Regions from separate parts of the Homo sapiens genome. Here all the other regions are linked to region 1. The links are contacts of gene promoters, found by promoter capture Hi-C in blood cells and fetal thymus (Javierre and others, 2016). All regions are on one chromosome and are shown on one strand. The core of a region is centred on a gene start or on the middle of the fragment in contact, and the rest is flanking DNA. Distances in the headings are between cores, read along the strand shown.

The links. The method cuts DNA at HindIII sites, captures the fragments that hold promoters and counts their contacts. A CHiCAGO score of 5 or more calls a contact.
Region 2: a contact is called between a fragment that was not itself captured here and the fragment with the promoter of C1orf74 in region 1, in 1 of 17 cell types (neutrophils). The highest score is 9.0, in neutrophils.
Region 3: a fragment that was not itself captured here is called in contact with the fragment with the promoter of C1orf74 in region 1 in 1 of 17 cell types (monocytes); the score reaches 5.0 in monocytes.

Annotation. Positions count from the first base shown.
Region 1 is chr1:209,782,440-209,786,741 of GRCh38, reverse strand. C1orf74 (chromosome 1 open reading frame 74) reads left to right here and starts at 2,183. Exons shown (of 2, transcript NM_152485.4): 1 at 2,183-2,364; 2 at 3,033-4,302. The coding sequence starts at 3,108. The coding sequence ends at 3,917. IRF6 (interferon regulatory factor 6) reads left to right here. Exons shown (of 9, transcript NM_006147.4): 9 at 1-1,125. RefSeq lists enhancers at 1,245-1,860, 2,045-2,304, 1,861-2,478. The HindIII fragment of the contact is 4,418 bases long and covers 394-4,302 here.
Region 2 is chr1:209,620,831-209,625,361 of GRCh38, reverse strand. It overlaps LAMB3 (laminin subunit beta 3), which reads left to right. Exons shown (of 23, transcript NM_000228.3): 15 at 1,362-1,522; 16 at 1,637-1,857; 17 at 2,183-2,380; 18 at 2,682-2,826. It overlaps MIR4260 (microRNA 4260), which reads left to right and starts at 1,852; the gene lies at 1,852-1,918. The HindIII fragment of the contact is 349 bases long and covers 1,451-1,799 here.
Region 3 is chr1:209,549,201-209,553,610 of GRCh38, reverse strand. No RefSeq gene overlaps it. Among named protein-coding and RNA genes, the nearest start is that of CAMK1G, 32 kb to the left of the region's middle. The HindIII fragment of the contact is 2,999 bases long and covers 478-3,476 here.

The sequences.
Region 1 (4,302 bases), core at 934-3,433:
AGAGTTTCTAAGAGACCTAGTGGAATTTGCTATTATGAAAAGCATGAAAAGATTAAGAAACCTGGCTAAAGGTCAGGTGCCCAGCTTCGAGGAAAAGTTGGGCTTTTAGGGACCGGGAAGCATTAAAGGCACAGAAACTTTACATTTTGGGGGTCATTTTGTTGAGTAGGTGAAGTGAGGGATTTGGGCTTGATATTTGGCTGCCCCATCTCTACGTGGGAACTCAAAGTTAAAAACCCACTGTAGGTAAATTAGAAGGGCAGCTCTTGAATCTGGGCCAGTCTATATCCCTTCTGTGAAGTGCTAACAGCCAGGCTATCTGTAGCCTGGGTGGGAGCCCAGATAATGTGAGCTGGTAAAGGGTATTGGAAAAGTGCCAAGAAATGCCAAGCTTTTGGTTCGTAACCACTATAAAAAGTTTATGAACATGTCAGAGGAATGGATGAGTGATTTGTGAGGTCTTAACTAGATACCCCGGTTTCTTCCTTGTTTTGGCTTCTTTTCAGAATGCCGGGAGAGTACATGCAGGGATTCCATCTAATCACCCTCAGCACTCTTTCTCTGGTCCTGCTGGATAGATTTAGATTTCCTTTCTTTTTTTAGGGCCTCAGTCTGCTATCTCCTTTGGTGGCTACCACCACTCACTCCCTTGATATCTTCTACTCCCTTGCCTTCACCTTGCTTAAGACTGAGAAGGGAGTTAGATTTTGTCACTAGCTCTTCTTTTTCCTCACTGTGTACCCCACCAAACAAGATTAGTTCAAGTTAAAAAGAACCTACTGGAGGTAAACTGGGAGAGCAAGTGTTGGATCTGGGCTGGTCCCTTTCCCATAAAATTAGGTCCCTGGTTGTATGTTCCCATAGCACCCCATACTTCCTCTCTCAGAATAATCATTTCCCTTGTAATGCTCAGCATCCGCATCCTGCTTGACTGCAAACTTGCTGAAGGTAGGGACTGTTTGTCTTGGACTTCGCTGCCAGTCCTTAGAACAGTGTCTGGGACACAGTGTGTTCTCAAATATTTGTTGCTGGAATAAATGAATGAACTAAATCAGTCTTTTAGGGATTTACTGTTAACCACCATGGGAAAATTAAATAAATGCGGGGAAGGAAAACGTTCTAAAATTAGAAGACTACTTTCTACTCTCAGCTTCTGATTCCCTCTGAGCTAAGAACCAGACAGCCTTAGGCTGGTAACTCCTATAAGCTGGTCCTCCTCCCATGCTGACCCCATCTTTACTGTACAATTCACTTTTCATGGACTGAAGGCACCACCAAGATAGATCCAGGAGTGACAACTCCAGTGTAGGTGTCCACTGTTCCCTTAATCTCTGTCCTGCTCCAAGTATAAATAAATTGGGGCCATTTCCTTAGATATTGGGGTTTTCTCAAGAAATCCTTTCCCTTCGTGGCATGGGTCAAATCGCTGGTAGTTAAAAAGGTGTTAACTCTTACGTGAAATAACACTTTTTCTTTGTAATGACCTGACTGGAAAGCCTCTGTGTCATCACTTCTCATTTCTTATTTGAAATCAGCAAACTGGATTCAGTAGACATGAACTTAAGCCCCATGAAAGTGGGGGTTTTGTCTGTTTTGCTCACTGCAGTACCTCCAGGGCCTAGCAGCATGACTGGCACATATTTGTTCAAAGTGAATACTCACACCTTCACACCCTCCCTAGAGAGCTGTTGTAGGCCTCTCAAATGTAGGATTTAGGGAAGTCAAGTTAAAAAAAATTAAAACGTTTCAGCACCACCCACAGGTGAGGCTATTCTGCAAAATATGTTGTCTTGAGGTATGTTTCGTCTGGACAAAACGTATTTCCACAGACACAAATCAAAGGTGTTTATTAACTGCTGTGTGCCCTGTTTCTGGATTCCCAGTCAAGTGGGACACCAGACGTCATAACACAGGGAGGACGTTCGGCGAAGCAAAATGAGGGCAGCAGCGGGAAACCAGTTTCACCAGGTTCCGCCTTTTCTCGTTTACTTCCGCCCTTCCCAGTTCCTAAGCCGACAGATGGGGCCGCGTTCAGTCTGGCCGGAAAGGGCGGGCCGCACGGTGGCCCAAACTTCCGGCGCGCAGTAAGGCTGCCTAGCTAGTGATTCTAACGCGAGGCGCGCGAGCGGCTGGATGACGTCACGGAATGGGGGGAAAGAGGGCGGCACTCGAGTGGGTGCGCATGCGCAAGAAGGTGCCTGCGGGACTGGAGCAGAGCGGGCTGCGAGGGTCTTCCCAGCGCAGGCGGGTTTTCCAGTGTTACTTGCGGCTGGGCGTGGGGGACTAGCTGCCTTTCTGGCAGCAGGCAGGAAGCCGCAAAAAGTTTCTGAGCCCCCGAACCTGTAGCGGACGTGGAAAAAGAACGTATGTGAGACAGACTTATGCCTCATTTAGCAAATCACTATAACATGCTCTGGTGTGGGGTGTGTGGATCGGAGAAATCTCATCTTCCGAGGGTCCTTGATGTCGGACAGAAAGGGAAGGCGGGGCCAGCAGAAGTTAAAATACTACCCTTCTGCAGTTCTAGTGGATTTCATTCATTCATTTTTATGTGTCAGGGTGAGATGGTTGTTAGTCCACATTCTGGTGTATATTAATCAAATTACTATTCTTATAACTATTCTCTGGCGGGAAGAGTAGGGGAGTTGTCAGTGGAAAGGATACATTTGGAACTTGGAGCTCTGTCCCAGAAGGGCTTTTGGGCGAAATGCTGTGAATTTTGCCAAACACTGCCCCGCCTCCGCCTCTGCCCCAAATTCCCTACGGTTTGAACCAGAGAACGTAATTTGCAACAGGTGAAATTTAGAATAAAAGCCAGAGGGAATATAAATCTAGCTATAAGGCTAGAAAAACACACGAATTTATGATTGAGGGAGACCAAGTCAACCAGAAAAATCAAGCAGCATCGGTGAAACTATCTTGTCTGGGCTGGGTCGCCATTTCAAAGCAGGGAGGGACAGAATAACCTTTGGAAGATACCGCGATTTAACAGGAAGGCTGTTAATAATTCCCTGCTCCTGCTTTGTTTCTAGGCCCCTCCTCAAGTGTCTGGCTGAAAGATGCCACCCAGGGAAGGGAACTCGGGCTAGCTAAGGAGGCCATTCTTGATGTTGCTTCTAGATCTCATGTCATCACCGAGCCCTCAGCTGCTGGTGGCAGCTGCTCAGCAGACCCTTGGCATGGGAAAGAGACGGAGTCCACCCCAAGCCATCTGCCTTCACTTAGCTGGAGAGGTGCTGGCTGTGGCCCGGGGACTGAAGCCAGCTGTGCTCTATGATTGCAACTGTGCAGGGGCATCAGAGCTCCAGAGCTATCTGGAGGAGCTGAAGGGGCTTGGCTTCCTGACTTTTGGACTTCACATCCTTGAGATTGGAGAAAACAGCCTGATTGTCAGTCCTGAGCATGTATGTCAGCACTTGGAGCAGGTGCTGCTTGGTACCATAGCCTTTGTGGATGTTTCCAGCTGCCAGCGTCACCCTTCTGTCTGCTCCCTGGACCAGCTTCAGGACTTGAAGGCCCTCGTGGCTGAGATCATCACACATTTGCAGGGGCTGCAGAGGGACTTATCTCTAGCAGTCTCCTACAGCAGGCTCCATTCCTCAGACTGGAATCTGTGTACTGTATTTGGGATCCTCCTGGGCTATCCTGTTCCCTATACCTTTCACCTGAACCAGGGAGATGACAACTGCTTAGCTCTGACTCCACTACGAGTATTCACTGCCCGGATCTCATGGTTGCTAGGTCAACCCCCAATCCTGCTCTATTCTTTTAGTGTCCCAGAGAGTTTGTTCCCAGGCCTGAGGGACATTCTAAACACCTGGGAGAAGGACCTCAGAACCCGATTTAGGACTCAGAATGACTTTGCTGATCTCAGCATCTCCTCTGAGATAGTCACACTGCCGGCTGTGGCCCTCTGACTTTAACTCTCCTCCCATATAGAAGGTACTCAGTAAATGATCATCTCTAGGTTGGGGATGGCAAATAATCATCTCAACTGCCAATTCCAAGTGTCTTGAATACACTAAGGCACAATGCTGTAGATCAGTTGGCCACAAATGCAAAGGGCATGTAAATAGGTAATGGTGGTGCTAGTAGCAAATTGGTAGATAGTACATACTTGCCATTTCTATACTAGGAAGTCCTCTTAGTGGAGATGTTTTCATTTTCACTGGATAAAAGATAGAAGGAAGGAGATGATAGAGGAAAAGCAGGGTGATGGAAGACAAGCCAAACACTCTTGCATGGTAACCTTGTAAATATACCTGCTCTATGTGGGTGCTGCATGCTAGGAAAGTAGGGCTG
Region 2 (4,531 bases), core at 376-2,875, 160 kb after region 1:
CAGTGCTGCCTGTGGGAGAGAGTCAGCTCTGGATTAGTCACCCTGGCGGAGGGCATCCGAGAGGCAGGGGCTCTAAAAATAACTCACGTGTGGCTTTGGAATGGAAGTTGGTCCCGCCCACACCCCCATCCCACCAGCAGAGGTGCCTTCTTAGTGAGGTTCAGTTCTGGAAGCTTCTATAATTAGTTTGCATTCCCTGAGCACTGGCTTTCTGACTGTGCACAGAGCCATCCAGGTGTGTGAGTGGTGGGGAAGGAAAAGGCAGCCTGAGAAGAATGAAAATGGAGGCTCCGTGACTCACGATGTGCTAGAGCTTCTGGCTGGGGGCTCCGGGAGAGGAACTCAAGCGAATATTGAAAACCAACCTACCTTCCTTCCTTCCTTCTTTTCCTTCTTTTTTCCTTCCTTCCTTCCTTCCCTTTTTTTCCTTCCTTCCTTCCTTCCTTCCTTCCTTCCTTCCTTCCTTCCTTCCTTCCTTCCTCTCTCTCTTTCTTTCTCTTTACATAATTTTAGAGCATCTATGATGAAACAAGCATTGTACAGGCATTGGGGATATTGAAATTAGTATGACATAATCTTTGCGCTCAAGAAGCTCGCACTGGGGAGAATGATGTGTAAATGGTAAACTATAATGTGACGCATGTTATAATGTGTCATGGCAGGCTTCACAGAGGTGCCTTCTGACCTAAGTCTCAGATTCGGGCAGTCAGTCCACCAGATTCAGTAGGTTGGAAACACAGGCATGGAGGGGCATTCCATGGAAGGGCGTTCTGTGCCTGATCAAAGCCTGGAGGTGGAGAATGTGAGGCTTGGAGGAGGGAGCTGGTGGTTGGGTTGGTGGAGCTGCAAAGGGCACAGGGAGAGAGGACTCTCCAAGAGCTCAGTGGCCAAGGGCCTGGGAGGTAGACTCTGAGCCTCCTTCGGGGGGATGACCAGCTGGCAGCAGTGATGGGATCTGGAGCTGAGTGGGAGGTGTGGACTGTGGAAGAGATTTTGGAGCTGCAGCTGTACAGATGGTAGCTGAAGCCAGCCCATAGAGAGCGAAGGAGGAGGGCATCAGGGCATTGCTCCTCATGGAAGCCAGGATCTGGAAGAGGGGGAGGAGAATTGGGAATGTTGGGTCATAGAAGTCAAGGGAGGAGAGTTTTGTGGCTCCATCTGCACCTGGACAGAGAAAGATTGTGCTGGTCGCCAAGCCTCTGTCCAGCGGAACCCCCTTAGCCTGTGGATTCTCTGTTCTGTTGCCTTTGCCCAAGGTCTCTGTTTGTTCTGACTCAGTAGCAGTTGCTCTGAGGGGATAGCTGCTTTGGGGAGGCAAAACTCCCTCCTATATTTTAGTGTAAGCTCCTCTCCCTTCTCAGGCGAACTCTCCAGGGCCTGCAGCTGGATCTGCCCCTGGAGGAGGAGACGTTGTCCCTTCCGAGAGACCTGGAGAGTCTTGACAGAAGCTTCAATGGTCTCCTTACTATGTATCAGAGGAAGAGGGAGCAGTTTGAAAAAATAAGCAGTGCTGATCCTTCAGGTGAGGAGAGGGGCACCCGGATAACCCCGGGCATGGGCACTGCCGTGGTGGGCATGCCACCCCCTCTCCCTCCTGCTCCTCCTCCATCTCCATTCCTCATGCTTCTCGCCACAGGAGCCTTCCGGATGCTGAGCACAGCCTACGAGCAGTCAGCCCAGGCTGCTCAGCAGGTCTCCGACAGCTCGCGCCTTTTGGACCAGCTCAGGGACAGCCGGAGAGAGGCAGAGAGGCTGGTGCGGCAGGCGGGAGGAGGAGGAGGCACCGGCAGCCCCAAGCTTGTGGCCCTGAGGCTGGAGATGTCTTCGTTGCCTGACCTGACACCCACCTTCAACAAGGTGACTTGGGGCATGGAGTCCCACTTCCTGGAGCCCACACCCCAGCTTGTCACACACCAACTGCTGCCACCTGCTTCCTATTAGGGCAGATCTGCCCCTGTGAGAACCCCACTCCCCCAGCCATCCCGACCCTTGTACTGCTCACTGTGAGCTCAGTGGTTGCCAAGGAAACCAGTTTCTGGTCCTTAGCTCTCATGGAGATGTCTGGCTGTTTCTGGTGCTTGGTTGTCATGGAGATGTCTGGCTGTTGGTTTCCCAGGTGTGGGGTGGGATTGGTTATTGAGGGGCTTTGGGTAGCCTCTTTAACACCGCCATCTGTCCACAGCTCTGTGGCAACTCCAGGCAGATGGCTTGCACCCCAATATCATGCCCTGGTGAGCTATGTCCCCAAGACAATGGCACAGCCTGTGGCTCCCGCTGCAGGGGTGTCCTTCCCAGGGCCGGTGGGGCCTTCTTGATGGCGGGGCAGGTGGCTGAGCAGCTGCGGGGCTTCAATGCCCAGCTCCAGCGGACCAGGCAGATGGTAAGTGCAGCCGAGGCGGGGTGGGCACAGGTAGGAGGAGGCAGACAGGATAGATCCCCCGGGCAAGTCAGAGTTCCCATTTTACACTAAAGTCCAGAGATTTTAGGTGACCTGCTTAAGGTGCCACAGCAAGTGCAAGATAGTTTTTTTTCTCTTTTACTGAACATCCACATGTAAGCTGGGTTGGTTACAAATGCTTCCTAGGTAGGTCTTGGCATAGAGGATGATCCGCAGAATCGTGGGGCTGCTGAGAGGTTCCCTTGGGGCCTTACCCCTTCTGACCTAGAGTGTATGTCAACAGATTAGGGCAGCCGAGGAATCTGCCTCACAGATTCAATCCAGTGCCCAGCGCTTGGAGACCCAGGTGAGCGCCAGCCGCTCCCAGATGGAGGAAGATGTCAGACGCACACGGCTCCTAATCCAGCAGGTCCGGGACTTCCTAACAGGTGAGCCCAGTCTCCACCCCACCTTGGCTGCTGTTCCAGTCCTGCCTGTCCCGCATTCCCATGTTCAGTGCATCAGCCAGCCCTCCCTCCCTAGTCCCAGGCCTGCAACATCCAGGCCTCCACTTCTCCTTGGCACCATGGCCATGACCTTCTCGTTCTCCCGTCTGCCCTCCCCACCCACTCCAATCCCTTGTGACCCATTCTCATTCTCAACACAACAGCTGAAATATCTCTTTTAAAATGCATAAGTCAGATCACATCTCACTCCTGCTTAAAATCCTTCAGTGGCTTCACCTTGTTCTTGGAATGAGCTCTCAACTCCCATCGTGGCTACAGAGCCTGGCCTCTGTCCATCTCTTGGGAGTGACCTTGGGCTCTTCTCTGCTTTGTTCACTGGCTGTCCTTGAACATGTCAGGCTCTTGCCTGCTTCAGGGATGTTTATTTGCTCTTTGTCTGCCTGAAGTCCTCTTTCCAGGGCTGCTGCTTCTTGTCCTCTGGGTCATCTCCCCAGAGAGGTGTTTCCTGACCATCCGATCTGTTTGTCCCCCATCATCTTACTTTCCTTGCACTACTCACCCTCATTCAGTTGTCAACAAGTGGATTGTCACTCCACTAGAATGGGGACTCCAGGAGGGCAAGGATGGTTGTCTGTCTTGTTGACTACTGTGTCACCAGCACCTAACATAAGGCCAGACACAGAAAGACATCTGACATTGGTGGCATGAATAAATGAACCAGACACCCTTCCTCACTGCTCTGGGGAGTGAGGAAGGGCTGTACAATGGAAAGATCCCTAAACAGGACCCGGGAGACTCGTGTGACATTGGGCAGGCTGCTTTTCTCTTTGCCTCATCTTTTGCTTCTATAAATGGGGACGGTAGTATTTCACAAGTTTATTCTGAGGATCAAATAACTGATGTAAAATGTGTTTTGAAAAAGGAAAAGTGCCTCAGGAACAAGAGTTGATATTGTTAGATTTCTGGTTCCTGCCAGGTTATTTGCTTGGCTGGGAGCCCAGTTAATACGAGCCCAGGGCTTGGTGTAATGACAGTGGCTCCTCTTGCTACTATTACAGTGTTTTTGCCCCAGATAGGCCGAAGTCCCCTCCTGAGTGCAGGTGGCAGGTCAGAGAGGGGCAGGAAAGTTCTTCTGAGGTCTCATGACTTGCATAAGGCCTTGAGGCACTCACCTGGGGAAAATATTACCTGGGGATGTAGGGAGATTGTGCCCCACAAACGTGGATGATGGGGGAGGTCAAGGTGTGGGGCTTAGGCTCATGGATAAGGGATTCTTGCCCCTGAGTCAAGTCCAGTGAGGCTGAATGGCCACTCATCCTGCATTAATCTCAGCCAGGGCTCTGGCCTCAGTGGGTGGGAGGTGAGTTGGAATTCTCTCCTGCCGGGTGCAGCTGAGGCTCATGTGAACAGACAGGGAGCTGCCAGGCCCCTTTTGTCCTCTCTCTTATACTTGTATCTCAGGTCAAGTCTTATGATGAGTCCAGGGTCAGAGAGAAAAAGCAGGGCCTGAGAGAGGCCTGGCCCCAGGGGGAAACCCAGGAAAATTTTCTGTAGCGGTGGGCTTGGACTCTGGTCTCCAGAGTCCTGGTGCAGAAGCCACTGAGCGCTGGCTGCTGTCCGATATAGGGTCACAGTGTGGGAGGGAGAGTGGAAAGTCTGTGGAGGGAGGAGGAAACATCGCCTTTCC
Region 3 (4,410 bases), core at 728-3,227, 230 kb after region 1:
ATTTCAGGCAGGGATGTGATCAGATCAGACTGATGTGCTTCAGAAACCATATTCTTACTTTATTCATGGAAAAAGGGACGAGGAACGAGAGCAACACTGAAAACAGGGAAGATGAGTCAGAGGCTGTAGCAGGCAGGGGCCTGGTGAGAGATGACCGTGGCCAGGGCTTGGTGTTCTCAGTGTGGATCGAGAAAAGTGAACCATCAAAATGAGTACTTTCATTACAGACACCTGGGATTTATTTCAGCAGGGAACTCTAGGAGAGTTAAAGTTTCCAGTGTCTGCATCTTATACTCATGGAATCCTCAAGCCACAGATGAATAGGGCAGGAAGGGAGTTTTCAAAGTGATTTGGACATTCCTCTTTAGGGGCTCTGATAGAGCAGGGCCCTTTAATCCCCAACCTGAAGAACTACCTAACAGGCAGGTGCTTTTCTTCCTGGGATGAAGAGAAGAGATTTTCTTCCCGACAGAAGCTTGTCAAAGCAGCGGTAGCTTGAGGGTACCCCAGGATGTGGGCCACAACACCCATGGAGACTGTTTTGCATGTCATTTCTAACAATTGTCTCTGCAGGCTGCCATCCCAGAGAACATCTGAGCCAGTGATTTTAGGTTTTCTTTCTGCGGAAGCCAGCACTTTGGCAGATGCTTGTGGAATGATAGGGTGCCTGTCTGGGCTGGCTTCCTGGTGCTGTCCACTTTTCCAGCCCACAGTATAACAGCCTCTGGCATTTGATGCACCTGACTTAGAAAATCAGCCGTTACTTGCCAGCTGTTGTTAAAATGGTCTCCCAATTGCTTTTCCCATTGCTGATCTTGTCCACTTCCCCCAACATGTAATTCTTTATTTGTGATGCTAAATCTGATTACCTTCCTCCTCTGCCTCAAAATCTTCCAAGATGCACCGTGTACCATAGATCAAAGCCCAGCACTCCTCCACAGGGTATTCAAGGCTCTCTAAAATCTGGTCTTCTTCCTCTGTGACCTCATCTCCCATCATTCTTTCCAAGTCTCTCACCCTCTAATGATGCCCAGCCATCTGCTAGCCTCAGAACACACCACACCTTGACTCATGCTGTTTTCTGCCTGCTATCAGCTTTCTGTTTTCTCTCCCTAGTTCCAAGTCCCAGGTAAACCTACTACAGGTTGCACATCCCTAATCTGAAAATTCAAAATCCAAAATATTTCAAAATCTGAAATGTTTTGAGCACCGATATGGTGCCACATGTGGAAAATTCCACGCCTGACCTCGTGTGATGGGTCACAGTCAAAACACAACCAAAACTTTGTTTCATGAACAAAATTATTTAAGAATACTGTATAAAATTACCTTCAGGCTATGTGTATAAGATATATGTGAAATATAAATGAATTTCATGTTTAGACTTGAGTCCTATCCCCAAGATATCTCATTATGTATATGCAAATATTCCCAAATCTGAATAAATACAAAATCCAAAACACTTCTGGTCCCAAGCATTTTGGATAAGGGATAGTCAACTTGTGCCTTCTCCTTGAAGGCTTCCGTACCATCTCTCTTTGTAAGGAATCCCAACCTCCACTGCCTTCCACATGTTACTCTGTTATAGGACTTGGTCTGGCCAGTCTTGTGTTATTTCTTGCTTATAGGTTTTCCTTCCCCATTATGCTGTGAGTTCCTGACAGCCAGGAACTCTGTCTGCTTTGCGTTTATAACCTAGAGATACACAATAAATACTGGCTGAGTGACAGAATAACTTCATGGAGCCCTTGGGGTTGACAGTGTCCTACTTTAGTCTTTCATAGGGACCTGCAATATTTATGGCAACCTGGGGCAGGAGGCAGCACTGGGACAGGGATGAGGTGAGTGAGGGGACCAGGGTGCAAAATATAAGAAGGCACCCCCTCTCTGGGTGCTGATCTGGGCTTGCCCGACCCTGAGGGTGGGCACCTCCTAGGTGTTCCTCCTGTTTTCCCCTCATCCCAGCCCTGGCAGGAGGGAGGGATGAGAGAAGTCTTGGGATCTGAAATGAGTCTTGCCACAGGGCATCTATAGGGACAGGCTAGGCTGTCAGTTCCTCCTCTTATTCTGATGCATGGAGCTCTCTGAACAAGTGAGCTCAACCCATGTCTAAGGGGCCCAGAAGTTCCAGCATGAATCCAGAGCCTACTGGCATGAGGAGAGTGGCCACAGAGATGTGGCCCCACAGATGGGATGGCCTGGGGAGTGGCTGACATTTGGAACACTCTGGAGACAGGCAGAAGGGTAGCCCTCACAGGCAGTCTCTCTAAGGGAGCAAGGTACCAGCCTGTGGGCCGGAACATGAAGCCAGAGAACACGAAGCCAGAGGACATCCCCAGAGGATAGTTACATTCTGGGGTTCAGTGTAGACATATGTATCTTAGGTTACTCATAGAATATAAGACATATGAATATAATATAAGACATGGAATATAAGAGAATATGTATCTTAGGTTACTCATAGAATATAAGAGACAAATAAAAAGTTATAGCAGGAGGAAATGCTAAATATTGTCTACCTTGGTGGCTCTCAACCCTGGTTGCACAGTGGCTGTCAGCCTTGGTTCCCCACAATCACTGGGGAAATTAGAAAAATATCTATGCCTGAACCCTACCAAATTTAATAATCATCTTTGGAGATAATGCCCAGATAGTCATCTTTTTTTTTTTTTTTCTAAAAGCCCCTAGTTGGTCCTAATCTATAGCCAGAGTTGAAAGCCCCTGATCTAGACCAACTTCATCATCTTATAGGGCAATTATCTGTGAAATTATTGCTTGCACGTTTATTTCTCATATTAGATTGAAAACTTTATATGAACAGGAAAGGTATCTGTTAATCACTATATTCATCCCCAGGGCATGGCACAAGGCTGGCACAAAGTTGAATGAATAACTGAGTCAATGGGTGAGTAAACCAAGGCCCAGAGAGGGGAAGGAACTTAGGCAATGTCATGCAGCAAATACACATGTGACAGAACCAGCATTAGAATCTTTGTCTTTTGACTCCTTGCTTGGTGTTCTTTCAGTTATCCCATGACTTCCATGGTTGGATGGTCACACCTTGGATCGCTTTACTCCAGAACTGGTAGATGTGCTTTTGTCTTCCTACAGGCCACATTGCCTGCTGTTGTAATTATTTGGGAGTCACAGGTTTGGAACTAGATCTTATTTTTTTGAGCATCACCAGCTGACCCACCACAAACGACTGACTTTAATAACTAAGGTGGGGAAGAGGGGGCTGGAAGGGAAGATGGGGAAATAAGCCCCACTCCGACTCAGGCTTTTGAAGTACCATACCTTCATTTTAGGACTTCACTTGCCAGAGGCCACTTTGCTGTTCTTCAGCCTTCCCCTACTGTGCCCTATGTAAACTTGAACTTTCCATCTTCTCTAGCCAATTGCTCAATTTTAATTACCTGTCTGGTTGAAAAGTCCTGAAAACCAATTCACAGCAAGGTGTTAATGATTGATAAGCTTTGATGGAATACATCTTCCTGGGATCTTTGCATATCAACCAGGGACAGTGTCCTGACTCAAAATAAGGGACGTCTAATTGCAACATTTTGAGTAGAAGGGAACAGAACTGTGAGGGGCAAGTCAGGGTGTAAACAGGGTGGCCCTTCTGGAGAGACTATCCTCAAATCCATCAGAGGAAGGCAGCCAGGAGTTTATCTTTGAGTAAGGCATCTGAAAGGCACTATTGGGGGTCAAAGTCTCAAGTCTACCTGGGTTAGAGGTGTACTTTGAACACAGAATTCTCACCTTCTACCAGTGGTATGAGACCAGCAGCTTCCCTGGGATTCTGTAGGGGGCTTGGCCAATGGGCTCAGACCCCTAGTGGTCAAGGAGGAAGAAAACATATCGGTGCCTGAGGCGGAGCTCTTAATAAATGTTAACGCTCTTTCTTCTCTCAGCAGGGACTGCTCAGCCTGCAGCCCCAGAGGGAACAATTAGATTGTTTATCCAAACCTCAGCCACTTTGCTATGTAATTGATTTTTCATTGAGTGTATTTAGGAAATGGTTATTTACGTGAATACAGGCACACCAGGGACATGGCAGCATCTGATCATAGGAAATGGGAGGGGACCGAGATCAAAGGGGTTGCTGGAGGAGGAATAGTAGGAGGGAGGGTGGGCTTTGGAGGCAGACATCCTAGGCTGAGATTCTGACTCTGCCGCTGACTGTGCAGATATGGGCAAATTATTAACCCTCTTGGCCCTGGTCTTTTTTTTAAGAGGGGGATAAAATGTACTTCCTAGTAGGGTTGCTACAAGGATTAAGCTAAACCATGCTTGCAAAACACTAAGAACCGAGCCTGCCGTATCATATACACTTAGTAAGCTGTTGTTATTATTACTACTACTATTATTTTCTATGCCTGGGAAGCTTTCCTATCCTCCACTTAGCCT